Linked DNA regions of Homo sapiens: region 2 is linked to region 1. Evidence: promoter capture Hi-C in 16 types of primary human blood cells and fetal thymus (Javierre and others, 2016). All regions are on one chromosome and are shown on one strand. Each heading gives the region's core, a stretch centred on a gene start or on the middle of the fragment in contact. The rest is flanking DNA. Distances are from core to core; before and after follow the strand shown.

Region 1 (6,560 bases), core at 1,736-4,235:
GAGCCCCAGGTATTCCACCTGCACTTCACCTGTTGGACCAGCTTGGTGGTTGAGAGTCCACTGAGGCACTGGCAAGGAGGTGGCCAGGACAGACAAGGCTGCCTCTATGGACCTCACAGCTCCAGCCCAGATTCAGCTGAAGTCCTCAGGCAACAGGCAGCACAGCTCCTACCCCAGGCCTCTCAGGGCTGCCAAGAACATGAGCTCCGGATGCTAGGCTGTGTTTCAGACCCTGTTCACACTCTCTTTGTCCATGGGCCCAGACACAGTCTTGTGCTGCTCCCTCTGCTTTTGGGTCCTCCATCCATCCTCTCTGCCTAGATAAATCTCTCATCTTTCAATACCCTGCTAAGATGTCACCTCCTCCAAGAAGCTTTTACTGAGTTGAGACACCCCCAGCTATCTGATCTGGCAATGTTTGTATGCACCTCCCTGCACTGTAGTACCTTAACTTGGAGTCTGTGGCCCCTGGGATGACCTTAAGGTTAGGGACATATAAGTTTGTCTCTTAGCACCTTGCATAATGCTTGGCACATAATGGAAACCCAATGAGTATATAATGTAGAAACTATTTCTCCACCCTGGAATATTCTCTCCTTCTCCTCCACCCATCTAAACAGGCCCACCTCTAAGGGAGCAGCTTAAATTCCACCTCATTCTTGAAGGTTTCTCCAGCCTGAATTTGTTGCTTCCTCATTTGTAGGATGACAGAACTCAGAAGAGCTTTAGCCATGATGAGCCGACACAAGTCAGTAGTAAAAGAAGGAATATAAAATGCCTCCTTCAGGAATGTACAGGCTGGACATCATGACTCTACAAGTGAAAAAGAGTTAGTGGCTTTAGATTTCTGCAATTTTGGTATAAATCACTGGCCTGGACCTGTATTTACAGAGATGCAATACTCACATCATGTGGGGTTTGTACAAATTGCAGACATCGAGGAACAGAGAATGTTCCAAGGGCAGGCTGTAGGGAAGAGGCTACGATGTGGGAGGTATTATCCTGAAAAAAGCAATGCACAGGGAGCCCTCTTCAAGCACTTAAAGGCTTGCCAAGTAGAAGAATGTGCTTGTTCTGTGTAATTCCAGAACACACAAGCAGAACCAATGGGTGCAAATTATGTGGAGGCTGTTTTTCCTATATGACCCCCATATTTTAACCACAAGGACCACAAACATTGATAGGGTTTCTTCAAGAGGTTGTGTGGTCCCTGACCCTGGAGATGTTAAGGCAGAGCCTAATTAACCAATTTCTCAGGGATGCCATAGCACAGATTTCTCCAATTGGAGGGAAACTATGATTCCATGTCTATGAGATGGAGTTTCACTCTGTCGCCCAGGCTGGAGTACAGTGGTGCCATCTTGGCCCACTGCAACCTCTGCCTCCCAGGTTCCAGTGATTCCCCTGCCTCAGCCTCCTAAGTAGCTGGGCCTACAGGTGCATGCCACCATGCCTGGCTAATTTTTCTATTTTTAGTAGACACGAGGTTTCACCATGTTGGCCAGGCTGGTTTGAACTCCTGACCTCAAGGGATCTGCCTGCCTTAGCCTCCCAAAGTGTTGGGATACAGGCATGAGCCACCATGCCTGGCCTAAAGTCCTTTCAATTCTAAGATTTTTTTTTTGCCCAAGGAGCTTATCTGCCACTATTGTTTCCAACATGTCCTTGGCCCACAGCTTAGAGAGTCTGGTCTTCTTAATTATCTTTTCAAGTGTTTATGACTTAGTTCCTCAGCTAGACTGTGAAACTACTTAACAACAAGGACTGTGTATTGAATGTCTGTGTCACACAGCAGTGTAAATGCTGGGTAAACACTCATTGGTTGCCTGACATAGTAACTCATGCTTTAAGCCTTCCCATAGAAGGGTGAGAGATTGGGAGAGTGGAAGAAGAATGATCACTGGCCTTAGAAAGCAGAAATCTGGTCCCATTTCTGCCCATCTTTTCTCATTTCTCATCCTGCAGGCATCTGAGTCTTAGACCCACCTATCCCACTTCCTCAAGAAGCCCTTGGTGGAACTTTGCAAATGACCAAAGAGGGAGAATTATAATAAGGTTGTTAGTTTCCAGAGAACATTACACCTAAGCTTCTCCACGCTTGTAATGGAGGGATGGATGGATGGATGGATGGATGGATGGATGAATGGATGGATGAAAGGGTGGACAGAAGGGTGGATGGATGGGCACATGGGTGGATGGATGGTTGGATGGATGATGGATGGATGGAAGAATGGACAGATGGGTAGATAGATGGACAGATGGGTGGCCGGGTGGATGGATGGATGGATGGACTGAGTCAAGTAATGTCAATTAGAGACCTGAGTGTTCTTTCCTCTGTGCTCTACTCACACTATCATATTTCCTAGCAGTCCATGGCACATGATGTCTGCTCAGTCTCAGGGTGAATCTGAGGTCAATATCTTTGCAGTTGGGTTTCCCTAGATGTTCTGTCCCATCAAGCTGGTACCAACTAATTAAACCCACTGAAAAGCAGAGACTCCCTTCTCGTCTTTCCAAACAGAGTCACACTCACAGTGCTATCAGCCCCTTCTCTTATTCTGGCTGTCTGGCCACAGCCTGGATTCCGGCATCAGAATTTGTTCTGTCCTTGGGCTTGCCAGACATACTTTCTCTTGTATTCACCACCTCTTCAAGCCTAGGATGGAGCCCCACGGGGCACCAAAGATGTCTGACCCCAGCACTGTTTATCTGGCTGCAAACCCACTAATAACATAGTCAACGACAGTCAGTACAGAGCAGGGGCCCCATACCTTATTTCTGCCAAGGCTTTATGGATGACTCTCTCCCCCTTCAACAAATGCTCCTTAATGTTCCCACCATCTTATTATTCATGCTGTACCAAAGACATTGTGAAATGCCCAGGCTCTTCTTCCTTCATGTCCTGCAGCCAATTATAGAGATTGGTGCAGGCCTGACCCACCTGTACCAGACGGTATAAACACAGCGCAATGCCCTGGAGAAATCAGTTGGAGTCTCCAGGGATCAGGGTTCCAGGAACTCAGGATCTGCAGGTCAGTGATGGACAGGCAATATTCTCTCTCTCTTTTCTTTCTTTTCTACTCTCTCCTGTCAATATCTCTGGTATGCCCTCTATCCCTTCACTCCTCCTGGCAAGCTGTCTAGGTAACAAGGTAGTCCCCTCATATGACATGATGGGACATCAAAAACATTTAGGAGCACATAAAGAGATTTGAGGAGAAGGAATAGGTTAAGCCAAATCAAGATTTCTGAACTACTTAGAACAACTGACTTTAGAAAGTAATCTCAAAAGAAACCATCTGGGCCAATGGTATTCAAACCGTGTTTGGTGGAAGCTTAAGAGATTTTTTGTTTTCGTTTTTTTTTTTTTTGTGCTCCTTGGTAGCTCCTCAGTGTCTTCTTTGTAGGCAAGAGAAATACTAGCAGGGTTCCAAAGTCTCCATTGCTTCCTGTGTCAGCAAAGCAGCTGCCCTTTATCCTTTTTACAATCATTAGAATTCTGCATAAAATTTTATTGTGAAACTTAAAACAGTTTTGAAAGATACCTTACTCAATCTTTCCATCCAATGTTGATAAGTTGAAGGCCCAGGGATAAAAGGTGGCAAAATAAATTGGTAGCAGAGCTAGGTCTAGGACTCAGCCTTTCTATTCAAAGTCTGCTCTGTGTGTTTCTATGTCCTGGCCACAAGGACCAGGGTAGTTCAATTAGGGTGGTTGGAGAGAGCTTCAAGTGAGCTGTAAGCCATGCTTCATGACTTCAAGATCTTATAAACTTTTATAAGGGAAACAAATATCTTTATGTACAACAATAAATAATACAGTAAAATTTAATAGGAGTTCAGAGTAGAGTTACAATAGTAAGGGAAAGATTCATTAAACTCTGAGTCATGGAATTATAAATAGTTTGGCCTAGAAAGAACCTTCATAACCACATAATCTAATCCCATGAATGTATAGTGCTGAAACTGAGGGTTGGAGGTTAAAAGACATAACCCTGTATGTCTAAGCTGTAACTCTACACTGGTAATTAATTTGATAGAACTAGATACTGAACCCATCTATACTGATACTATCTCCAGTGATCTTAATATCAAAAGATCTGAATGGATGACAATGAGAAGGGATGACTTTTGAGGCAGGGAGAACAATGGGACACCTGTGAGTACGTCCACTGAGAAGATAAGAAAGGAATTATGTCGCCAGGAGGTGTGGTTTAGTGTCCATGGAGAAGTGAGATGCTATCACACAAGAAAATCAGTGCCAGACGGTGACAAAACAGTCAGTCACTGTAGATTCTAGAGCTGGGCAGGGATGTGGTGAAAAAAATCTTTAGAACGTGGGTCCACATTCCTCACATAGGTTGGAATGAATGAAAGGCAGAAAAACCGGGAATACAAGTACAGTAGTAATGGCAATTAAAAACACAAAGTTATATTTTAAAGAAATAACCTGTAGGGACTTGATAAGTTAGACACTGAGTCAGGAGAAGTAGGAGATATTGTCAATGAGTCTCAGGTTTTGAATATCACTGGTGAGAGGAATATTATGACAGTGAGAGAAATGAAATTGGGAGGAATGTGTGGGCTGGGAGGAGAAGATAATTAACTTAACCTTAAATATATTTGGTTGGATATCAGCAGGATGTCCAAAGTGGGCTGTCCTGTAGGCTGCAGGAGGTAAAGTGGGATGTGCAGTCTACATTTGGGAGCCATTAGCCCAAGATAATCATTGCAGCTGTAGAAGTCAATGAATTGCAGCTTAATATGATGTGAAATAGAAGTGCTTAGGACCTTGTTAGCCTTAGGGGTGGCCCCAGAAGGAGGTGAAATCTACAGTGGGAGAAAGAGGTGTGAAGGGAGTCATTCAATGTCAAGGGTTCCAAGGAGGCAATGACTAAATATCAAAGGAATCAAAAGAATCTCTGGATCTTGCTCCACAGAAGTTAATATTGGTCTTGGACAGAACATCCCACATAGATACTGTGCAGGAGAATGATGAAGGATAGGACAGGGTGCTGTGCAAAAGAACATGGGGAAAGCCCAAGTTTAGCTGATGGCAGTGTTTGAGCCAGGACAGGTGAATTGCGGAGGTCTGAGAGCCAGATGCCATGTCCAGGGAGAAATGAGAGGAAGAAAAGAGGGATATAGACTGAAGTTCAGTGAAAAGTCATTTGAGGAAAATAGGGAGGGGAAGCTTTGGGGGTGAGGCATGTGGCACACTGGGAGGGGCTTGGCACACAGCAGAGGTTCAGCACCAAGACCCAGGCTCTCTGATGGACCAGACGCTAGCTTCCTACCCTTACTCACTTCATCACAATCTATCAGAACCCAGGCGGAGGGAGCCGAATAGGGGAGCCTTTGGGAAAGACACTGTACATTTTGGCTGTGCCAGAATGGGAGGTTTCTAGGGCCCATGGGATCCAGCTGGACTGGACCAGCATTGAATTTCTTCCAGCTCTTTGAGCTGACACTGACCCAGAGTGGGAGTCATCAGCTTGCTATCCACCTTCACCCAGGGCCCTCCACTTTGTTGCCCCACCTAGATCTGGGCACAGCTACCACACTGCCCACTGTCCTGCTGCTACAACCAAAGAAGCCCCAGTGGTTTGGCCAAGGGGAGCCCATCATCAAGTGGGCTTGCATTGAGGCCATGATGCTGTTGAGTTATCTGTACTGGGGGATTGTCTAGTCCTTTAGGACTCAAAGTGCTGGCCAGGAGGAACCAGCAGCATTGACATCACCTGGTTGCATATTTGAAATGTACAGTCTCAGGCCCCACCCCAGGCCTGAAAAACCAGAATCTGTTATTTTAACAAGAACTGCAGGTGGTTTATATATTTATTAATAAGTGTGAAGAATGGAATGAAAGTACACCAGTTCCCAAGCAGCATGGCTGATTGCTGGAATCACTCCAAGTCCTACTGAATTAGAACCTTCGGCCCAGGAAATAGTAATTATACAGAGTCCCCCAGGTGATGCAGATGGGCAGGCACATTTAGGAGCCAATGACTTTAACTGAACACTTCATTTAAAAAATGTTGAAACTTACTTGATACTACAAAGGAAATTCATGTTCATTATAGGAAAATGTTGATATGTTTAAAAAATTACTCATAAAGCCATAGGTAAGTGGTGCAACAACACGAGTAACATTTCTATGTATGTGTCTCTATGTGTGGATTTAAATAGAATTACAGTGTACACTTGATTTATAATCTGCATTTTTCACCTAATATATTTTGAAAATTTTTATGTCCTAAAACAAGCTTCTATAATATCATCTTTAACAAACACATACATCCTTATTTATTGAATTTTGCTATAATTTCTTAGCCAATTACCTATTACTGAAAATTCAGATTTTTTTCAACTTCTTGCTATTGTAAAAAATTATGCAGTGAACATTTTTGTAAGTAAACATTTGGGCAATCCGTTATTTTTCCTAAGAGTAAGGGAAACACATGCAATCACAAAGTATACAGAATGCTTTAAGACTTTCATTCACAGCACCAACATCCCTCCAGAATTTGCACTTGTTAGTCCCTATTATCCTTCACTCTA
Region 2 (6,560 bases), core at 2,779-5,278, 110 kb after region 1:
ATTGCCTGGACTCTCACAGAGCCTCCTGACTGGTCTCCTTGAACTTACGTAGCCTCTACCATCTCTTCTCCATACAGCAGACAGGTCCATCTATTCTCCATATAGCAGATGGATGATCTTAAAAGTAAATACACAAATACTCTTTGACCTGTCATTTCTCTGCTTTAAAAATGCACCCTGGGGGTCAGGCATGGTGGCTCACGCCTGTAATCTCAGCACTTTGGGAGGCCAAGGTGGGCGGATCACCTGAGGGCAGGAGTTCAAGACCCAGCCTGGCCAACATGGTGAAACCCCATCTGTACTAAAAATACAAAAACGAGCTGGGTGTGGTGGCACACATTAGTAATCCCAGCTACTCGGGAGGCTGAGGCAGTAGAATCGCTTGAACTCAGGAGGTGGAGGTTGCAGTGAACCAAGATCTCGCCATTGCACTTCAGCCTGGGAGACAGAGCAAGACTCCATCTTAAAAACACACAAACAAACAAGGCCAGGCGCTGTGGCACATGCCTGTAATCCCAGCACTTTGGGAGACCAAGGTGGGCGGACCATGGGGTCAGGAGATCGAGACTATCCTGGCTAACACGGTGAAACCCCGTCTCTACTAAAAATACAAAAAATTAGCCAGACATGGTGGCGGGCCCCTGTAGTCCCAGCTACTCTGAAGGCTGAGGCAGGAGAATCGCTTGAACTCAGGAGGTGGAGGTTGCAGTGAGCCGAGATCGCACCACTGCATTCCAGCCTGGACGACAGAGTGAGGCTCCATCTCAAAAAACAAACAAACAAAAATGCACCCTGGGCTGGATATGGTGGCTCATGCTTGTAATCCCAGCACTTTGGGAGGCCGAGGCAAGTGGATCACTTGAGGTCAGGAGTTTGAGACCAGCCTGGCCAACGTGATGAAATCCTGTCTCTACTAAAAATACAAAAATTAGCCAGATGTGGTGGCAGATACCTGTAATCCCAGCTCCTTGGGAGGCAGAGGCAAGAGAATTGCTTGAACCTGGGAGGCAGAGGTTGCAGTGAGCTGAGATCATACCACTGCACCCCAGCCTGGGTGACAGAGTGAGACTGTCTCAAAAAAAAAAATGCACCCTGTCTTGCCACTGGGGTGCCTGTGGGATCTGGCCCTGCCCCTCCTGGCCCCATCTTTTCCCACACCCCCTGGGACCCTGGGACTGCGCTGCACCACACTGGCTTGCTTTCTATTCCCTGGAAATGTGGAGACATTTCCCACCTCAGGGAAGGAATTAGAAGCCGAAAATGCCCTTCCATACTGGACCCTCCTCACCAGGACATGGTGCAGCTTCAGAGACCTTCCCGAATTCCCACGGCAGTGTGCTCACCCTTGCTGCTCTCTTATTTCTCTCTGCTTCTTCCCAGGCATTCTTCACAATTTATGATAAAGTTTGATTCATAAGTCCGATTGTTTATTTTCTTTCTCTGTCAGTAGACTGGAAGCTCCCTGAGAACAGGAGTTGTTCTGCAGTAGACAGGCCTATGCAAACCTACCCCAAAGTCTGAGGAAGTTGAGAAGTTGAAGAAAGAGGCTGAGAAAGCTAGGGGACTTTCCAACAGAAGCCATGTAGGTGTCTCAGGCGGCAATGAGATGAGATGGTGGATCCCCGCATTAGCACCCAAACCCAGGGCTCATATACCATAGGGTAGGAGTGGTTCAGATGGGATTTATAAGACAATTGAAGTGTGATATCATCAAGGTTGTTTGACCTACGAGTAGCACTTACGGACTTACAGTAAGTATCTGCTCTTACACAGGAAACAATAGATAAACTGGAAATTGTAGAGGCCCTGCCTTGGAACTGGGGTCACTCAGTTAAGTCAATGTGGCAGGTTAGCTTCCAAGATGGAGTTGCTTCAGCTTCCACAGGGGTCATGTGTTTTATTCCTGATAGGTCAGCGGCTTGTAGCATAGAGCCTGCACAGAGCAGGTGCTGACTTTGAGCCTTGGCCATGTTCCGGAGACACCCCTAGCGGCTGGGGCCCAGAGTGGAGGGTTTGCATTTAGGTCTTGGTGACTTCAGGTTTCTGACTTACCCAGCTTGATGGAGAGAGAGAGTTGTAAAACCTGAAATATATGAGGAAGAAGAGCTTGGAGAAGAGAAGGAACCAGGTTTGCCTTATAAACATTGAGTTTGAAGTGCTGGTGAGATAAGCATGTCCCCAACATTTGCCAGCCCTGGGAAGTGGAGAGTGGAGGACCCCATCTGATATGTCCAAATACATGAAAGTTAAGACTAAAGCTCACAAACTGTCATATAAAATGTGTCCTGCCGGGTGCGGTGGCTCACGCCTGTAATCTAGCACTATGGGAGGCCGAGGCGGGCGGATCACCTGAGGTTGGGAGTTCGAGACCAGCCTCGCCAACATGGAGAAACCCCGTCTCTACTAAAAATACAAAATTAGTCGGGCGTGGTGGCGCATGCCTGTAATCCCAGCTACTTGGGAGTCTGAGGCAGGAGAATCACTTGAACCTGGGAGGTGGAGGTTGTGGTGAGCCTAGATGGCATCACTGTACTCCAGCCTGGGCAACAAGAGCGAAACTTGGTCTCAAAAAAAAAAAAAGTGTCTATTCTCCTAATTCTCCTACCTCCCACTTTCATCATGGCCTGGAGCTCCAGGTTTGAAGGAGGATTCTTAGCCGCCTCTGAATGTTGCTGCCACAGCACAGCCCACCCCAGCCTTTGGCCCACGCCACAGCTCCACCTCCCTTTCTCTTCCCCACCCTGCTCTGTATCACACGTGCATGTGGGTGGGTGACCTGCCCAAAGGTTTGAGCTCTCTCTACCTGCTCCCGTCTCTGCTATCAGGACTCTTGCCAGCGCTTCACCCAGTCTCAGGCTGCATAGGGCAGCGGTGCTGTGTGCCCACATGGGGAGGAGGCCATTTGGGCCCCAGAAGTGGAGAGTCTCGGGATCTGGGGCACGCAGAGTGTGGTGGAGAAGCAGGGTGCACGGGCTCCATGTTGGTATGTTCCTGTGGACTCTGTACCCTGCAGGGAGGGGTGCGGCTGTAGGTGAGCTAGAGCCCGACCCTCTCAACTCTGGGTCAGGGTGGCTGGTCCCCACTGCTGTGTGGACATGCAAGTGAGGGAGTCTCTGGGTCAGCTGGAATCATGAAGACGAGAGTTCAGGGAGGGTGGGAGTGGTGGAGCCTCAGCAGAGAAGTTGACGGTCATTGATGTTGAGGAAGTAGATTGTGTGGAGGGAGGAGAATGGCATGGTGTTTGCGCTCCCCACCAGCCTCACTTACACTTGTGGACACTGCGGCCGGTGTCCTGAGGACGTGTGTTGGGAATTCAGCCACGGGGAATGGAGGTCCCTTGGTTCATATAGTCACAGGCTCTGTATTCTAACCCCAGCTTTGTAATTTTCCAGCTGTGCAACCCTGGGCAGTGGCTTAGCATCTCTGAGCTTGCCTCCAGATCCGGATCTGTATGATGGGGTTATTAATGCTTCATAAAGTAGGTGTGAGGAGGGATTGAGGTACTATTGGGAGAAACTTTGTAACTAAAAGGCAATTGTATCATTTGCATTATTACCAGTGACATGAGACATAGTCACACAAAAATTGAAATGTCATTTGTTTTAAAACCAGAAATTGCCCAACTTAGGGCCCTCCTGTCTCTCACTGGGTGCCCTGCAGGGGACCAAGAGCCAGAGCAAGACTGAGAACCTGGGGCAGAAGCGCAGGGAGGAAGGAGGTGGGGCCTGCTTACCAACCAGGCCTCGGCCCCTTCCCCTTTCAATCCCAGGCCCCTGCATGGCAGGGAGAGGCCAGTTCCACCATGGCAGGTTCTTTCTAGGCTGGTGTGCAGGGTGGGGGCCTCCAAGGAGCAGGGGCATGGGGAAAGGGGCTGCAGGCGCTGGGCCTAGGAAGAGAGGCTCTTATCTTGTGGGCAGGAAGTGTGAGGTGTTGAGCAGCTAGGGAACCCTGGGGAGGCGGCGGGGAGCAGGAGGGGTGTGTGTTGTGGTGAGGAGGAGCGGAAGTCGGAAGCTCCAGCCGTCACAGCCACATTCACTGGGCAAGCCGACTGTGAGCCAGGAAGTGCTCTTGGGGAGCCCAGGCCAAGCCATCCATTCTTGGGTCCTTTGGAGGTGAGCTAAGTGGGTCTGCCTAGGTTGGGGCTGGTGGAACCTGTGGGAGCAGGGAATGTGGAGAGTCACATGTGGGTCCTTGTGGCAGGGGCTGGGGCAGGTGGGCAGGGGAGAGGCGAGGGCTCTGGCAGTGCCGTGTGCACCTGCCATGAGCCTGGGCTAGGCTAGGCCCCTCCTTCCCCCTTCCTGCTCTGTGTCCCGTCCCCCTCCTCCCTCAGCCTACCCCTCCTCATCTGACCCTTCTCTGATTCCCTGCCCTGGCCCCACGGACCTCTGTTGTTTCCCTTCCCTGGCTCCCCGCAGAGCCTCTGGAGGTCTGCAATAGTGAAGGGTGAAGGAAGCTCCTTGCTAATCCTCTTGTGAGTGTCACTGCGTCCCCAGTGACTGCTCTGGCTGAGTACCCAGTGGGGGCTTTTGTGGCCAAAGGTCCCAAGTGATTCTCGACCCTAGACTCTGGAGAGAGGGAGTCTGGAAGGCCTGGGTTTGGGGTGGGGGTGGCTCTGGGTGTGGTTGCTGCAGGAGCTCAGAGTCAACTTGGCCATCAGGGGGCTCCCAGCTTCATCTTGCCTTCCAGGACCATCCTGGAGAAGCTCGAGGAGAGGTAAGGGGACCCTCCTTACTGGTTTAGCTCTGGCTTAGGCCTGTTGTCCTGATGGGCAACAGGAACCACTGAACTCTCAAAGTGTGCCTGTGTAGGAAACTAAGGCCCACTGTAGTCATTATTGTTATAGTGAAGGTAGCTGCATGGAGGGAAAGTCCCCTGACACTGCCATTCCCCCCTTATTCCAGGGCCTAAAATTCCACAGTTGAAGTCACTCCTCTGCTAGAATGCAGGGAAGGGTGGCCTGTCATTAGCTGATGATAAATACTCCTCCGTTCATTGGACCTTGGACCAGCTTTAAAAAGTGGTCCCCAAGCAGGCCTGTCTCCCAGCTGCCTAGGACTCTAGAGCATCCCGTGGCCCCCTCCTCCTACAGACAAGGAACCGCCTAGCATGGGGATCAGAACACAGGCTGCTGAGCTCTTTGTTGGGGAAGGGGGAGAGACCCACAGAAGGGGTGAGGGATGTGGGGTGAGAGGACCCAGGGAGGAGAGGCCCAGCCTGGCCCCAGCCCCCTAGGGGTCTTTGTCCTCCCCAGGCAGCAGCTGTACTGGGTCCCCTTTGTCATTCTGTCCCTACCCCCGTGATCTCTCCCCTGGATACTCTCTGCCTACCTCAGACCGCCATCCTCTGCTCCCTTCCTGAGCCTCTGCTGGCCTCACCACAGGCCTTCAGTAGCACTGTCTTCTCTCTCTCTCTCTCTCTCTGTGTGTGTGTGTGTGCGTGCAAATTTGCATGATGGCTCTTTCTGTGTGGGCAGGATGTGGGGCCTTCTCGAGTCATTTCTCTCACGGTGCTTCAGACCCCAGGTTCAGACAGAGGCCTCTGTCCTGCAGCTCCAGGCCAGGGAGTTCCACTCATGGTTCCTGCCTGCAGCAACATCTGTAATTCGGCAGCTTCTCGGGCTGCAGAGGGACAGGACAGGTCACCTCCTAAGTCCTTGGACCGGCCAGAAGCCTTCATACCTTTTCCATAGGAGGGAAAACATTTCCAGGGTAAAAGGAGGGAGCGTTTGCTTGCTGAGTCTGGAAGCTCAAAAAGGGAAACAGAGACAGGCACCCTCCGGATGAAGGTTCAGGGCTGACTCCTTGAGGAGGCTGAGAGCTGAGCCTGACCAGGAGGGCTATTTGTTTGTTTTTGTTAATTTTGGCTTCTCTAAATGGACAGCAAAACAACAAAATTAAACTGAGCAGGACACGGTATTTCCTGAGCACCCACCAAGGGCCAGGCCCAGCACTCAGACCCATTCCAACTTTACAACAAACCTGTGAAGTATAGCTTTATTGGGTCTTGGTTCCTTATTTTACAGAAAAGGAACCAGGTGGAGTTTTTCACCCAGAGCCACATGGCTTGTCAGCTGTAGAGTTAGGATGGGATTCTGCTCTGCATTCTTCACTATGACCCTGAAGTGGGCAAAGGAGGGTGGTCAGTGCAGGGCACCCAAGGCCATCACCTTCCTACTCAGGGCAGGCTCATACCCCAGCCTCTGTGCCCGGTCTCCCCGTTCTTCAGCCAGGGTACAAGGCTGCAATGCCAGGCTGAGGGTGAAAAACAAACTCACTGTTAGAAAGCACCGTCCGGGTGCCAGGTGTCAGCTGGGTTCCTTCCTGCCCCCTTGGGTCAAAAAGAAATTGCCTTGAAGCCGGGGGTGGGGCAGGTGGGAGGGACTCTGCCTTCTAGTCCCTCAGCCATTGCTTTCTGTGTGTTTCACCTCCCACAAGAGGGACATAAGGCTTAGCCCTTGCAGTATTCTCCATGAGAAACATACACCCCCTCCCCACCGTGGTGAAGATTCTCTGAAATGTAGTCAGCTGTGCTCAAGAAGAGTGGCTGGTTGGCAGCAGAGT

Evidence for each region. Contacts are between HindIII fragments. The CHiCAGO score rates a contact against its expected background, and 5 or more counts as called.
Region 2: a contact is called between the fragment with the promoter of PSD4 here and the fragment with the promoter of IL1F10 in region 1, in 6 of 17 cell types (M1 macrophages, M0 macrophages, M2 macrophages and 3 more). The highest score is 9.0, in M1 macrophages.

Annotation. Positions count from the first base shown.
Region 1 is chr2:113,064,985-113,071,544 of GRCh38, forward strand. IL1F10 (interleukin 1 family member 10) reads left to right here and starts at 2,986. Exons shown (of 5, transcript NM_173161.3): 1 at 2,986-3,032. The HindIII fragment of the contact is 1,248 bases long and covers 2,086-3,333 here.
Region 2 is chr2:113,169,943-113,176,502 of GRCh38, forward strand. PSD4 (pleckstrin and Sec7 domain containing 4) reads left to right here and starts at 4,029. Exons shown (of 17, transcript NM_012455.3): 1 at 4,029-4,112. LOC124907872 (a long non-coding RNA gene) reads right to left here and starts at 5,826. Exons shown (of 2, transcript XR_007087197.1): 1 at 5,328-5,826; 2 at 1,406-2,083. RefSeq lists enhancers at 2,371-2,871, 2,872-3,372, 3,602-3,671, 3,722-3,891, 4,512-4,601. The HindIII fragment of the contact is 16,060 bases long and covers 1-6,560 here.